Linked DNA regions of Homo sapiens: region 1 is linked to region 2. The links are contacts of gene promoters, found by promoter capture Hi-C in blood cells and fetal thymus (Javierre and others, 2016). All regions are on one chromosome and are shown on one strand. Each heading gives the region's core, a stretch centred on a gene start or on the middle of the fragment in contact. The rest is flanking DNA. Distances are from core to core; before and after follow the strand shown. Region 1 holds the start of SIDT1 (SID1 transmembrane family member 1). Region 2 holds the start of GCSAM (germinal center associated signaling and motility).

Evidence for each region. Contacts are between HindIII fragments. The CHiCAGO score rates a contact against its expected background, and 5 or more counts as called.
Region 1: the fragment with the promoter of SIDT1 here is called in contact with the fragment with the promoter of GCSAM in region 2 in 1 of 17 cell types (activated CD4 T cells); the score reaches 5.2 in activated CD4 T cells.

The regions. Positions count from the first base shown.
Region 1 is chr3:113,528,325-113,535,693 of GRCh38, forward strand. It overlaps SIDT1 (SID1 transmembrane family member 1), which reads left to right and starts at 4,231. Exons shown (of 25, transcript NM_017699.3): 1 at 4,231-4,919. The coding sequence starts at 4,698. RefSeq lists enhancers at 3,623-3,842, 3,863-4,052, 4,193-4,522, 4,993-5,122 and a silencer at 4,793-4,842. The HindIII fragment of the contact is 7,487 bases long and covers 512-7,369 here.
Region 2 is chr3:112,131,529-112,138,584 of GRCh38, forward strand. It overlaps GCSAM (germinal center associated signaling and motility), which reads right to left and starts at 1,720. Exons shown (of 6, transcript NM_152785.5): 1 at 1,564-1,720. The coding sequence starts at 1,592. TBILA (TGF-beta induced lncRNA) reads left to right here and starts at 1,895. Exons shown (of 1, transcript NR_157393.1): 1 at 1,895-3,831. It also overlaps a transcript of C3orf52 not described here. RefSeq lists enhancers at 1,326-1,385, 1,866-2,045, 5,040-5,559, 5,560-6,078. The HindIII fragment of the contact is 3,922 bases long and covers 1,155-5,076 here.

The DNA.
Region 1 (7,369 bases), core at 2,981-5,480, 1.4 Mb after region 2:
AGGTGGTCTGCATGAGAGGAAGGCAAGGAAGGAGATGCAGAAAAAGAAATATCAGAAAAATAAAGACGAAGAAGGAAAACTGAACATAGAGTGATAACTGGAAACCAAAAAGGAGTAGAATTTACCAAGGAAATAATTCTACTTTGTTGTTGTTTAAGTCATCAGATTGCTCATTCACTTTAACCAAAGAATCTTATAGTGAAGCAATTTTAGAACTGAGTTTTATTTGTAGACTTTTGCATACCAATTAGAAAATTATCCATTACATCTGATAAATCATTTTCTCTTTCTTTTCTAAGGTGCTTCTCAGATAATTGTTTAAGTCCAGTGTTTCCCAGCATGGCCATTGAAAGCCCAAATAATCTTTGGTGAAATTATGCTATTTAGAGAGGTGGGCACTAGAATTAGAATTAGAATAAGTATATATATATAGGAAAAAGGAGTTTTTCCTGTAGGAGTGGAAAAATCTGACTTAAATGGTCCCATAAGAGCTGGCAAAAGTTAAAAGTAAAGCTTGTGTACTTTGTATCTTGAGCCCCCAACCTTGAGGATGAGTTGCCTCTAAATGCACACCTGACAATGTGTCTCCCCAGGCAAGTATAACACCAGAGAGAATGCTCTTTCTGGATCAAAACCAAATTCTCAGAACAAAAATCTAGATGAGAGGATAATCTTATCTAGTTTTATTGGTAACCCACAGCAAAGTTTGTCCAAATGAATGCCAGTCAAATGAAAACTACATTGGTCTGGGAGGACAGCTCAAATTAAAGGCTTATAGGGCCTATGCCTGTGTTCTACTCTATGACAACACTTCCAGATTGCACAATGCAAAACAGAAGCAGAAAAGAGAGAAAACAGAGATGAAAAGGAATAGCCTGACTCCACCAAAGATGCCAATCAAATGGGAAGTGATAACAAATCCTAGGTACCAAAGTGAGACTAAATAGCCAAAGAACTCAAAATCAAAGAGCAGAGTTCAGAACCAGTGCTGACCCAATGTGTCAATGCAGACTCAACTGTGTGCAGTGAGGCACAAGAAGCCTTGGTGGGTACTGCACCTGGCAGAGAACTGGGATCCATGGTGACATGCAGTGCAGACAGTATCTCTGTGGAAACTTCAAGAAAACTACAGAAACAAGTGAAGCTCACACAAATGAAAACAAACAGAGGCTAATTATTCAGAGCTTGCTCTAGCAAGGGAGTTGACCACCATCACTTCTGCTTAGTAGAGACTCAAAGGCAGGAAGGGGAGTGAGAAAACTTCATAGTTATAAAAGGGGAAGGTTTCAGGTATGCTCTGACTGGATCTTGCTGTTGGAAGCTGGAGGCAGGCTAAGTAGGAGCAGGGCATTTTGTGGTTTGGGAAGCATATTTAACTTTCTCTGATTGATCCTAAGTTGGAAGCAGGGGCAAAAATTGGGGAAATTGACTCATTGAGCAAGACCTAATTCTTTTGGGCCATTTGCTGCAGCAGTTGTAGTTTGATTTCTTGGACTGGTTGCTGCTAAAGTGTTTTTGTTTCCTGAGCTGATTGCTGCAGAAACTGTGGGTCAGAGTTAGTTGTATTGCTATTTATGGTCTGGCCATTGCCCACTTGCATATTTAGTCTCTCACAGTAGAATCCTGACATTGTAGATATTAAAAAAAAAAAACTGCCTTTAAAATCAAAACAATTGAACTCATGGAGAAAGAGAGTAGAAGGATGGTTACCAGAGGCTGGGAAGGGTAGTGGGAGAGCTGGGGGAGGAAGGTGGGGATGGATAATGGATACCAAAAAATGGAATGAATAAGGTGTAGTATTTGATTGCACAACAGGCTATAGTCAATAATAATTTAATTGTAAATTTAAAAATCACTAAAAGAGTATAATTGGGTTGTTTGTAACATTATGGATAAATGCTTGAGGTGATGGATATCTCGTTTTCCATGATGTGATTATTATGCATTGCATGCCTGTATCAAAATATCTCATATACTCCATACATATATACACCTACTAAGTACCCACAAAAATTTAAAATAAAATTCCTTTTAAAAATAAAGAAAAAAACCACCTACCTAATGGACCACATTTTATTTTTTAGCTATTGAACTAGCAGTCACACCATAACAGTATTTGTTCATTCAACACTTTAAACTTTTTAATGTACTTTCAAATACATCATTCTCCCTTTTATCCTTACAACAACCTTGTGATCCTGAGAGGTTAATTACTTGAGGTCACTGAATGACTTTTGGCTAGAATAAGGATTAGATAATATTACAGAGTGACTTGTAATATATAACTCAAATTGTTAGGTATAGATAATCCATACAAATGGCTTTAAAATAAATATTTTGGGTTTCATGCTATGATGAAGGATCTGTTCCATTTGCTTCCAATTTAGTTGCGTAAAGTTGAGATAAAATCTTGAAGGAAGGGTCATAGCACCATTTAAATACCCACAGGTCTGTCATGTGGAAGAAGTATTAGGTTTATTCCTATGACTCCAGAGGGCAGAACTAGTACAAGTGAGTAGAAGACAGGCAGATTTCAACTAAGAATATGAAATGTCTTTCTAATAATGAGACACTTGCCCCCAAAAGAAGGTGTTGACTTGTGAAAGAACCAGTTCCTCATCTCTTATAGTGTTTAAAAAGAACGCCATAATAGAACTCCATAATCCTAGAGACTCCTTTAACTGGTCACACCAGCTAACCTCCAGGACCTTCGTAGATTTCAAGTTTATGAAATGTTGTTGAACTTTGAAAAGAGGCACAGATATTTTGAATACAACAGTTTAAAGTCATTCAAATTCTGGATGAAATTATTTCGTTATGCTCCTCAAAAACAGTGAGTTCTATTTGAAGTTTTACCCCCAGACTCTCCTTTGAATTAGTATTTTTGCCCATATACCCATATATTTTCAAGAAATTTCTTTCTTTCCTTCCTTCCTTCCTTCCTTCCTTTCTTCCTTCCTTCTTCCTTCCTTCCTTTCTTCCTTTTGAGATAGGGTCCTGCTCTGTCATCCAAGCTGGGGTGCAGTGGGGTGTTCACGGCTCATTGCAGCCTCGACCTCCCGGACTCAAGCAGTCCTCCCAACTCAACTCCCAAGTAGCTAGGACGACAGGCATGCACCACCACGCCCAGCTATTTTTGTATTTTTTGTAGAGATGGGGTTTCATCATGTTGCCCAGACTTGTCATGAACACATGGCCTCAAGCTAGCCCACCTCCCACTTCAGCCTCCCAAAGTGCTGGGATTACAGGCATGAGCCACTGCACCTGGCCAAGAACATTCAAAACTTTAAAACTGAAAATTGTCCTAATAAGGAGTCTACTAACTTAATCTTCCATCAGCATTGTTTTCTGATTTCACAGAAAACTTTACAACAAATGTATTGCATTCATTCTTGATGTTTTAAGAAATTAAAGGAATTAGACAAGGTAAAAACAAAAACAAATCTATCTCTTTAAAGATGGCAAGGACTAGGATTTTAATCTGTAATCTTAAATTTTTGAAAAAGATCTTTTCCTTCTTAATGACTTCTTTTTAAATGGTCCTTCAGGTTGAACACAATTACATTCTTTTATAGTATACAGTAATGAAGCTGAAATAAAACAGTGAGTTCTCTTCCACACGTAAATTGTGATTGTTCAATGTTCTGCAAGGTCTTCTGATGGCCCCATTCTCACCCTGCTCCTTACCTGCCTCTTTAACTCTTTAAATCTAATCCCCTAATTTTTATCAGAAAAGTATTTCCTTTTTACGATAGGCTGTGGTTTCTGCCTTTAAAAAAACAATCCTGGGGTTTCTCTCAGAATCTGGAAGAAGTCATTGCAATGGTAAAGTAGGTAAGAGGCTGGGGTGGAAAGAAATGCCTTCTGCATAAATCTAGTTAGTCTGAGTCGTTTTTTGACAACTTCCGGGACCAGACTTCAGGCAGTGCTGGAAATTGTTCTCTTTACCATATCTTTTTTTTTTTAACTGTACATATTTACATACATACACATATGGTGAGGGAGAGAACGTGATGACGTGAGACTCTCCATGGAGAGTAGGAGGTAATAAAGAAATAAAACAGGTGTCTGAGGAGAGGTTCTATTAGAGAGGGGAGAATAGAGAGTAATTATCGTTCAGACAGGCAAGAGTTCTCTGCAGGTAGCAGCCTGGGAAAGCGAACTCGCGCACCCTCTTGGGGGACGGGCTCTTTTGCTTTCTATTTCTTCTCCTGCAGCCAGGGTGCACACGTATTTGAAACAGACCGAATTTCCTCCTCGATGTGGCGTCAGGTTGACTTTTCGAGACTAGCGGGTATTTCTTTTTAATGACTCCAATGCCTTTTTATTATTGCTGTTATTGAGGTTGAGGGAGAAGAGATCGGTCTAAATTCTGGCTGGGTAAGTGGGGGGATTCTCGGCGATGAGAAACGGGGGACTTAGAAGCCGGAGGAAAATCAGCAGCCCCACATCTCCACTTCTCCAGTCCGCCCTACTCTCCACCCGTGACCTCCAGTGGAGACCCCAGGCGGCAGCATCAGTATTTGATCGGCCCTTCGTCAGCACGCTGCCAGCCCTGGCCGGCTGGGTTCGCCAGGCATCACCCGCTCGGCTCTGAAGCGGACGCCTGGCCCTGCACCGGGCTTTGGAAGGACCCTCTCTGCGCTCGCCCCCTCCCCAGGGTGGCTCCGCTTTCGAGCCCGGGCGCGGTGCCCACCATGCGCGGCTGCCTGCGGCTCGCGCTGCTCTGCGCGCTGCCCTGGCTCCTGCTGGCGGCGTCGCCCGGGCACCCGGCGAAATCCCCCAGGCAGCCCCCGGCACCGCGCCGCGACCCCTTCGACGCTGCCAGGGGCGCCGATTTCGATCATGTCTACAGCGGGGTGGTGAACCTCAGCACCGAGAACATCTACTCTTTCAACTACACCAGCCAGCCCGACCAGGTAAGACACTCGCTCCCCTCGCTCGACTCCTAGAACTTGCCAGATCTCAGAGCCCCGTCGCTGCTTTGGAGTCCCCTGGGAATTGACCTTGGGAGACTTCGGGGACCAGGGGACTTTCTTTCCCTTTCTCCTCCGAAGCAATCGCTGCCCTGCCCTAGCTGCCTCAACACGCCTCGGGGACAACTCTGCTTCGCCTCGCGCCTCTCCTGGCCTGGTCAAGGGCATTGCTGGGCTTTGCAGAGGCACCAGTTCCCCGCACCGTCTGCGGGTCCTGGGTCCCTGCTGGGTCTTTCTCCAGGAAAGTCCTGATTTCTAGGGTTGCGGGGTGTGGTGTGGAGTGCGAAGAAGAACCGCACCTCGGTTCCTAATCCCCTGCAGGGAAGAAACCTAATTTCAAGTGGCTGATTCAGCCAGACCCTTCTATTTCATAGCGCATGGGGAGGGAGAACTGCTCAGAATCTAAAATGGAAATTGTGTGAAAATGGACGGAAGCTGCAGAACCTCTGTGCATTCAACAGTCACTTCCTGCGTTTTTGTGCCATTGTCACACGTTGTGCTTCAGAGACGCCAGAAGACCTGGGCAAAGACGTGAGAACTGCAGCCATCAGCTGATCAATCCAGGTTTTGATTTTAAATAAGGATGGATAATTGTGTGAAAGTTCTAGACCTATTTTTGACAAAAGTTGAGGGAAGATAAGGAGGGAAAAATGTTCCAGTGACTATCCCTTTGACATATATACTCCGATTATATAACGTAAGAAGATGCATATAGTTCATTTCTTTCCTCTAGTGTGGTACCTCTGGAGCACTGGGCGGGGAGAGAGAGGGAGACAGAGAGAGAAAGAGAGAAAGAGAGACAGAGACAGAGACAGAGACTCCCCAGTGTACCAACCTCTGGATCTTCTTCCCATATAAATGTGTTTATGTATCCCTTACTATACCAGCATCCCCTACCCTCTAGGGAAATTCCAGAACTAGATGATTGGGATACCATGATATGCCTCCGTCTGATTCTCACTCCAGATCGGAACTAGAAAACCTCATCACTTCCCAAAGTGAGGGTGGTTTGTATTGAGCAGGGGGGACCAATGTGCCTAACACTGCTCCTAGACATCTTCCAGCTGTGTGTAGCCAGAAAGTGCCCTGAGTGCCCCATCTCCAGTGTGGCACCAAATCCTATGGCACTGTTACCATGGCAGCACAGCCCTCACCCTGCTCTGTCCTCCAGTAACCTTCAGGTTATATGTTCTGTAGTGAGCAGAGTGGCTGTATGCAGAGCCATTTCATGGTAGACAAGGGAGAGGCTGCAGTTTTTGTTTCCCAAACGCCATATACCCAGCCTCTTTCTATCTAGCGTGGGAGAACTCATCGACTGGTTGACATGTTGCACGTGAGGTGTGTTCCTAGTCCTGTGATTGGCTGGGAGCAGAAAAAAGTCTGAAAACTCCATGATCTCTGGAGTAAGTCTCAGCTTCCCCCTAAATCATTGGTAAGAAAACTCAAATTACATGTGCTAAGTAAATCCTGACATCAGGCTTTGGTATTTCTTGCAGTTCTGCATAGAGATAGAGCATCTACTTATGAATTGTTGCCTTTACATTTTCCCCTTGTACTGTGTGAGTTTTGCACTTGAGATCACCTGGTTGACTTCCCTAGTAAACCTTGAGATATTGAGGGCAGGGGCAAAGTCATGTTCATCTCTGCCCTCCAGTACCTAGCACAGTGAATGGCACATAAGAGGTTTATAAGCCAGGCATGATGGCTCACACCTGTAATCCCAGCACTCTGGAGGACAAAGTGGGAGGATTGCTTGAGACCAGGAGTTCAAGACCAGCCTGGAAAACATAATGAGACCCTCTCTCTACAAAAAATTAAAAAATTAGCTGGGTGTGATGGCACATGCGCCTGTAGTCCCAGCTACTTAGGAGGCGGAGGCAGGAGGATCACTTGAGCCCAGGAATTTGAGGCTGCAGTGAGCTGAGCTCTTGCCACTGTACTCCCACTGGGGACAGAGTGATACCCTGTTTTTTCAAAATGTTTTTTTTTTTAAAGAAAAGAGAGGCTTATAAAAAACATTTAGTGTTTTCCAAAAATGAACAAATAAGTGAATAAAGGGTTATTAGCTAAGGCTAAATAAAATGAAATGTATACTGTTTTCAATTCAATAGTTTGGAAAATGTGAGATCATTTCAGATAAAAACATAAAAACAAATTTCTTTCATAAAACAAATTTGGTTTTTATAAAAACACATTTTAAAAATTGTTCTATTATGCCCTATTTTGTCTGTGTGTGTTAACATGTCCTTTATTTTATGAAACAGTTTTGAAAATATTTTTGAATGACACAGTAAAAGGTTGATGACCCAAGCAGTCCCTAGAATTTTTGTTAAAATATTACTAGTCTGAGAAATACAAAGTTGGGAACCATGGGAACAGGAGATAACAAGAAT
Region 2 (7,056 bases), core at 470-2,969:
GTTGTTCAGGCTGCCCTCAAACTCCTGGGCTCAAGCAATCCTCCTGCCTCAGCCTCCTGAGTAGCTGGGACTACAGGTGCATGCCACTGCACTTGGTTCAAGGGAGACCTTTTAAATCATCATAGAAATAAAGATGTTGGGCAAACTGATCAACTATTTGGAAAAAAATTTACATCTGACACCATATATTGAATATATGTTGCCAAATGTAAAATAACAAAATCAAAACTTATGTGAGTTGATTTGTCTTATCTTAGGAAGAGCAAAGAATTTTAAGCATGAATGCAATGGCAGAAACCAAAAAGCTTTCTAGATTTAAAATCGAATTTTCTTTAAAATAAATAAAAAACCATAAGAAGTCCAAATAGCATAAGATGTGTGCACCTTGGAAAAAGGTTTTTTTTCTTACATAAAACAAAATTTTAAAGTAAAAAAATTTTTTTAAAGTTTTTTTGCACTTATTCAGTGCACGTGATATGCCAGAAACAATGCCAGGAACCAGGAATTCAAAGATAAATAAGAAACAATCACTACATTTGAGCATCTCATATCTAGTAATAAAAATAGTAATTTATATAATTGTTAGAACAATGCTAGAGTAGAAGATTGACAAGGGGCTGTGACAACCCAGGGTAGAGAAGTCTCAGACAACATGATTCTTAGGAAGGGACATGAGATATTCCACAGGACCACCAATCCTCTTTTCGGCAAGTGGTCAAAAGTGGGCTACCATTTTTTCCTGTGTTCCACTCTCCAGTAGCATGAACTGAGACCAGGGATTCCAAACATAACCCTGTGAAGACCCCCTCTGGCTCGCTTACTCTCTCTAGATCACCCCACTTTATACCCTAGAGATTACCTTGTCTGTGGTGGCACTATTTTGGTGGCACGGCTTTGATATTAAGGAAGATGATGGTCAGAAAAAGAAAGCAGAAAATATCTTCTAATTTTGAACCCTACTTTATGTCAGGCACTATGCTAGCACAATACACACTAGAACTCTCTAAGGTAGATATTGTATTATTATTTCTACTTAAAATAAAGAGGCTGAGGTCCAGAAAGTAAATCTGAGTTCTGTGCCTATTTAATCTAGATGACCTCTGCTTACCTGCTTGCAGGGAGTGCACATCAAAGGAAGACTCAAGGTGGCAGGAAGCTTGCTGTTTATTTCAAACTTAAAATAGTGGCTGAAAGAGGGTGGTGATTTTGACCTCCTTGTGGAGCATGAGGAGCTCAGGAGAGCATCTCCTTCCCGGGCTTTCAGAAAGTTGTTTCATTTCTTAGGTGGTAACCTATTATATAGACCTTCCTTGGTAAAGTCTTTCCACCTTTCAGCTATTCTCCATCAGCTGCTCACCATGATTCTTGGGAGAAGGCAAAACCTATGGGAAATTTAATGTGGTATCTGGCACAGAGTAGGCACTGAAGGCTTGGCAGTTTCCTTACCCAACTACTTTCTACCCCAACTTAGTGTGCTAACTGTATACTAGCTTTCTTTTTCTCTTCCTTGCTGTATTGTCCTGTCCCATCTCCTCTGCTCTCCCACAGGGAGTCTAGACTTACCTGTTTTCTCTCAGCAGAGAATTTCCCATCCTCTCAGTCCTCTCAGGGCTTCCCCTCCGTCCCTTTACCACTTCCTTCTTGCCTTGTGCTCTGACAGGGCAACTCCTGACTTAAAGAAAGGGCTGTGTGGCTCTGGCCACCCGTGCAGAGACAGCAGAAAGGAGAAGGGTGTCTCTGCAGAGGGAAGGAAGAGGCTGGGGGAGGAGTGTTAGAGGCACGCATGTGCAGAATGTCCTAACATGTCAGTGCCTGAACCAACCTGGCTGTTGGCCATAACCAGCAACTACCCGTCAATGAGAGCTTCGAACCTCTGGGGAATCCCAGGTCTGAAATTACAGATGGGCCATGGGAGTTTTTCCACTACAGATATTTACGTTTATAAATCACGTTGTCTTCTTAGAAAAGTCAGAAGGAGGTTAAAACAGTCAAGCCACAGACCTGTAGAAAATATAGTATCAACAACTCTCAAATCTGAAAACAAACACCCAGTAACAAAATGGGCAAAATATTTGAACAGACATTTCACCAAAGGAACTATACAGATGAACATTAAAAGATGCTAAACATTGTAGTTATTAGGGAAGTGTAAATCAAATCCACAATGGAACACTTTTACATACTTATTACAATGGCTATAAAACCCTGACAATATCAAGTATGGCAAGGTATGCAAAGCAACTGGAAGTCTCATGCATTGCTGATGAGAATGCAAAATGACAGCCTTTTTGGAAAGAAGTGATAAGGACAGAAGGCAGGGCTTTACTGGGTAGAAGAGGGTGGTTCACTGGCAAAGGTCCCACCCTCAAGCCTTGAAACCGAAGCCCTAAATGAGAACAGTTATCCCTGTTATCCTGCCCAAATGTTACTCTTTAGCCTGTCCAGCCCCCCTATCCCGTGCCCATATAAACCCCAGACCTCAGCTGGCAGACAGACAAGCGGCTGAACATCAAGAGGAGAAGAAGCAACTGAGTGTCAGAGATGTGGCTTAACTTCAGGTGGCATGACTTCAGGGAGGAGCCCGGCCAGAGACAGCAGACTTCAGGGAAAGGTCACTTTCTTCCTGCACCATCCCCTTTGCAGCTCCCCTTCCACTGAGAGCCACTTCCACCATTTAATAAAATCGTCCACATCCATCAACTTTCAAACCATTCATGCAACCTGATTCTTCCTGGATGCTGAACAAGAACCTGGGTACCAACAGGGCAGGGTGTAAAAGGCTGCCACCCTGACTCTCCATTGAGTGGGTTAACACTTAGCTGTCCACGGATGGCAACTGCTAAAAGAGCATGAATTGTAACACATCCCTAAATGCTGCTGTTGGGCTGGAGCCCAAAAGTGCTCATCGAAGCCCTGGCACCCGCTTGCCTGCGTGCTCCCGCTCCCACAGAGAGTTTGAGCATGGTGGTGGCCAAGTAAGTAGGCCACACCCCTGTCGCAAGTCCCGAGAAGGGGTCAAGGGAACTCTCCCATCTCAGAAGTATGGCAATTTCTTATAAAATTGAACATAGGGTTACTGTACAACCTGGCAATTTCACTCCTAGGCATTTAGCCAAGTGAAACTTATGTCCTCTAAGACTGTGTGTACAAATTTTTATATGTGCTTTACTCATAATAGCCGAAATACCCTGGAAATAGCCCAACTGATCTTCATTGAGTGAATTGCTAAATAAGCTCTGTGTTATATTACATCCACACAACAGAATCCTGACCATCATTGAAAAGGAGTGGACTATTAATACATGCAATAACTTGGATCAATCTCAAATGCATTACACTAAGTGAAAGAGACCAGACTTAAAGCCTACCTTCTGTGACATTAGAGATAAGGTGAAACCACAGGAACAGAAAACATATTAGTGTTGCCAGGAGCAAAAGGTGGGGGAGGTGTTGACTTTCAAAGCACAGGAGGAAATTTTTTGTTGTTGTTCTTTATCTTGATTGTGTTAGTGCCCACATGACTGTATGCATTTCTCATAATTCACAGAACTGTATACTAATAAGGGTGCACTTCACTGCACATAAATGAATCTCAACAGACAAAAGGTTAAAAAAGAAAGAAATCTCGGGACAGGAATCATGGATTTTTGTATTATCCTTGTATTTGATGGTTGTTTCCAGTTTGGTCACTCATCTGTTTGTTCATTCCTTTAACAAGTATGTGTCGAGTGCCTACTATGTGCTGGGCACTGTAGGTTCAATGGTAAGAAAAGCAGATACAGGACTGCTCTTGTGAAGTTCCTTGAAAGAAATAAAACAAAGTGCAAAATATTTTATTGCTTGTCCTTGAGTAATGTAAAGGTCATATCTAAAACAGGCAGGAGAAGGATGGGGAGTGGGCTTAGAAGAAACAATTTCAGAGAAACTAGGGTACTAGCTGTGCAACCCCAGATTCATCTCACATCATTCTTATCCTTATGGCTGCTCTCCAAACTTCCTTTTGGCTCTGTGAGGGATTTCCAGGAGCACCTTATTAAAAATGGAAGATTTTATTATAAAAGATAAGCCATTATTGATCATTCACTTTTCTAAAAAAACACAAATGTGAGAATAAAATAAAAACACACAAGACTCACTAGCCCCTGCAAGACAGAAAGCAGCCCTGGACAGAGAGCCTCCTTATTATATACCTAATGCCTGAACTCACACATTCTAGGGTTTCATGTTTTGTTACCTCTTGCAAAGGATAGGAAACTGGCTAGAAAATTCATGTAAAGGAAGGTCACAACTTTAAAGCTATCTGACGCTAATGACTTGTATAATCTAGTTTGCAGCTCTGAGAGACAATATCAAATAAGCATTGTCAAATACTACTCCCACCTAACCTTTGCTGTCATTGTTCTTTGAAATTATCTTTGGGATTGGTTATGTTCTCTCACTGTAGCTTTCGTTTATCTCAGAGCACACACCCTAATGTCCATGTGCAGTCTCCATGCTCAAGTATTCCAGAATACAATTTTCTGGAGTCTAACTTCAGTTGACACCTGACTCCAAATTGCAAATCTACCTCCAACCAAAAAGAAATGAGAAATTAGTTTTTAAGGGCAATTAGCAAATATATTACAAAAATAATTTCAGATAAACGCTATGTGACAAATGGTGCTGTCAAGTCCTCTTATGTGAATACTAGTCATTGTTTGTCTTGAGAAAATGTGTGCAGTGGAGGATATCTTCTTGGCATATAAAAGGGGAAGATTTCTTTCTGTTTTAGTAATCTCTTTAGGGGATTGCCTGTGGTGTGCATTACATTCTGGTTGAATATTCAGAAATAAAAGTGTTTTCTTTCTCTTCTATTTTTGTGGTGAGGTTTTCTGAAATAGCAGGAGATTTTGCTTTTAATTCTATTTCCCCAATAGTAGCTCCATTAATTTTTTTCATGAATCCCTCATGTAATTGACTCTAGGAAAGATGTTAGGGTGGTAAATTTTCTTATTCTGTAAATATTTGAAATTCAGGAAAACCCTCCCATCAATAAATTAAATGAAGCATTGAAGTAAAAAAGAATATTCTTAACAAAGCTTATATTGAAAATCAGGTTTCCACAGCATATAGATCTAAGAAACCTGGGGGTACCCTTGTCTGTTTCTCCTATTCTCCTCTTTCAAAACCATTTCCTTTCCCAGGCTGGATAATTACAATAAAAAATAGAGTATGTGTTCCAAATTATTGAATGCTTCTTCCTTGTGTATGGAAAATCTGGGATGACAACCAGTGGTCTGCCATTTTGTGTACGAGAAAAAGAGGTATGTATGTGTGGGAGTCGGAAGGAATCTTGGTATACTATTATAACTAACCTCTCTCTTCCCTATTACCTTCAGAAAAAAAGAAAAACAATCAATCTAACCTAAAAGTGCCCCTTCCTCAGTGGCCTCAGCACATTTTGCACTACCTAGAGGCTAGCAGCAGGGGACCAGAATGTCTTAGCATTGTGAAAGAGAGACCACATGGACAGGGTGCTTAGCCAGTGAGTAGGGCTATTGTTGACTTCCCACCAGTATGAATGAACAGATCCTAGACCCTAGTTGGGGCAGCCTGAGCAGACACAGCCTGGATGCTGCTCCATGTGTGGCTTAATTAGTTCCACTATTGTCTAAAAGAGTCTTTGAGTCCAGAGAGCCATGGTAGGGTGAGTTGGAAATCAATCTGCCCATTGTAATTTAGGGGAAGGTTAGGAATTGCTTTCAAGCTTCTGTTTTACTCAGGCCGCTAGATGGAGAAGCTGAGCTGTGGAAGTGTTAGCTATCAATCACTTGTGTAAAGTAGCATGAAAGAGCAGGATATTTATAATAGATTTACTGCTGTAAAACTGACTCTGGACTATAAATAATATATCTCCTCTCCGTAAATGAGTAGAGCAACACACCCCCACACAAAGAAGCCCAGATAACAAATCTTTGAATCATAGATTCACTCTTTATTCTTCTCAGTGTTTAACTCCAGTGCCTAACACGTGTAAGAAACTACATTTCTAACACATGTAAGAAACCGTATGTGTTGAATTGGAAATAAAAGCCTGGATATTTGTAAGCAGATGATAGGGAAATCAGAGAACGTTTGGGTTGAGATCTTTAAATTTACTTTCCTATCCTTTGGCATTGCTGTAAAGAATTAATGACCAATGACTGTTTTGCTATATCCTTTGAAGATCATAGAAAAGTATAATTACAATAAGTATTTGTTGAGAGCTTTCTAATAATCCAGTAATTCTGTTAAATGCTTTAGATACAATTTCTAATTTCTTCATGTAAGAATTCTGTGGAATAAATACCATTTCCTCTTTGTTGTAGATGAGAACACCAGGCTCAAGTGACTTGCTCAAGGATATCCCAATAGGAAGTGACAGAGCTAAGATATAAGTTCAAACGGGGTGTGGATATATCTATTTGTTGTCCTATTTAATAAGTACTCATAGAAAGACGTCTTAGCTTGACTTTGAAACCTGGTCTACATCACTCCAATGTGTCAATAAGGAGCAGTATATTTGCATGTAGTGTGTCAAGGCTTCCCAGTTCTTACGCAGTTTTCACAATCTGGGCTGGCCTCAGCACAAGGCACGTTAGAGACCTTTAGGGTAAGAGTGAGTGATAAGAGTGATTCTAGATACTCCTGCAGTTTCAAAGGCCTAGATGGGATAATTCTAGCCCTAGCCCTAGCCCAAGCCCAGTCACTTTCTGGCAATGGTGAAATGAGGGAAGGGAATTAGGAGAACTAATTATACAGAAAGAAAATTATTTTGGGGCATTTTATTTTGGGAAAAGAAGTGGTTTATTTAAGATTTCTTACAGAACCAGGAGTCAAATAGCTTAGTTAAGACTTCCCTATTCTGCTTCCCTTTAAAAGAGGGCAAAGGCTGCATGGTGAGAGAGTACTGAGGAATCTTCCTGAATAGAACTTTCTACCTATATACTTTGTGATACAGAATATGAGCTGATTAGTGGTCCTAGCTAATGTCAGATAGTTGTGTGTTTGAAAACTGTAACTATTAATTGCTGCTAT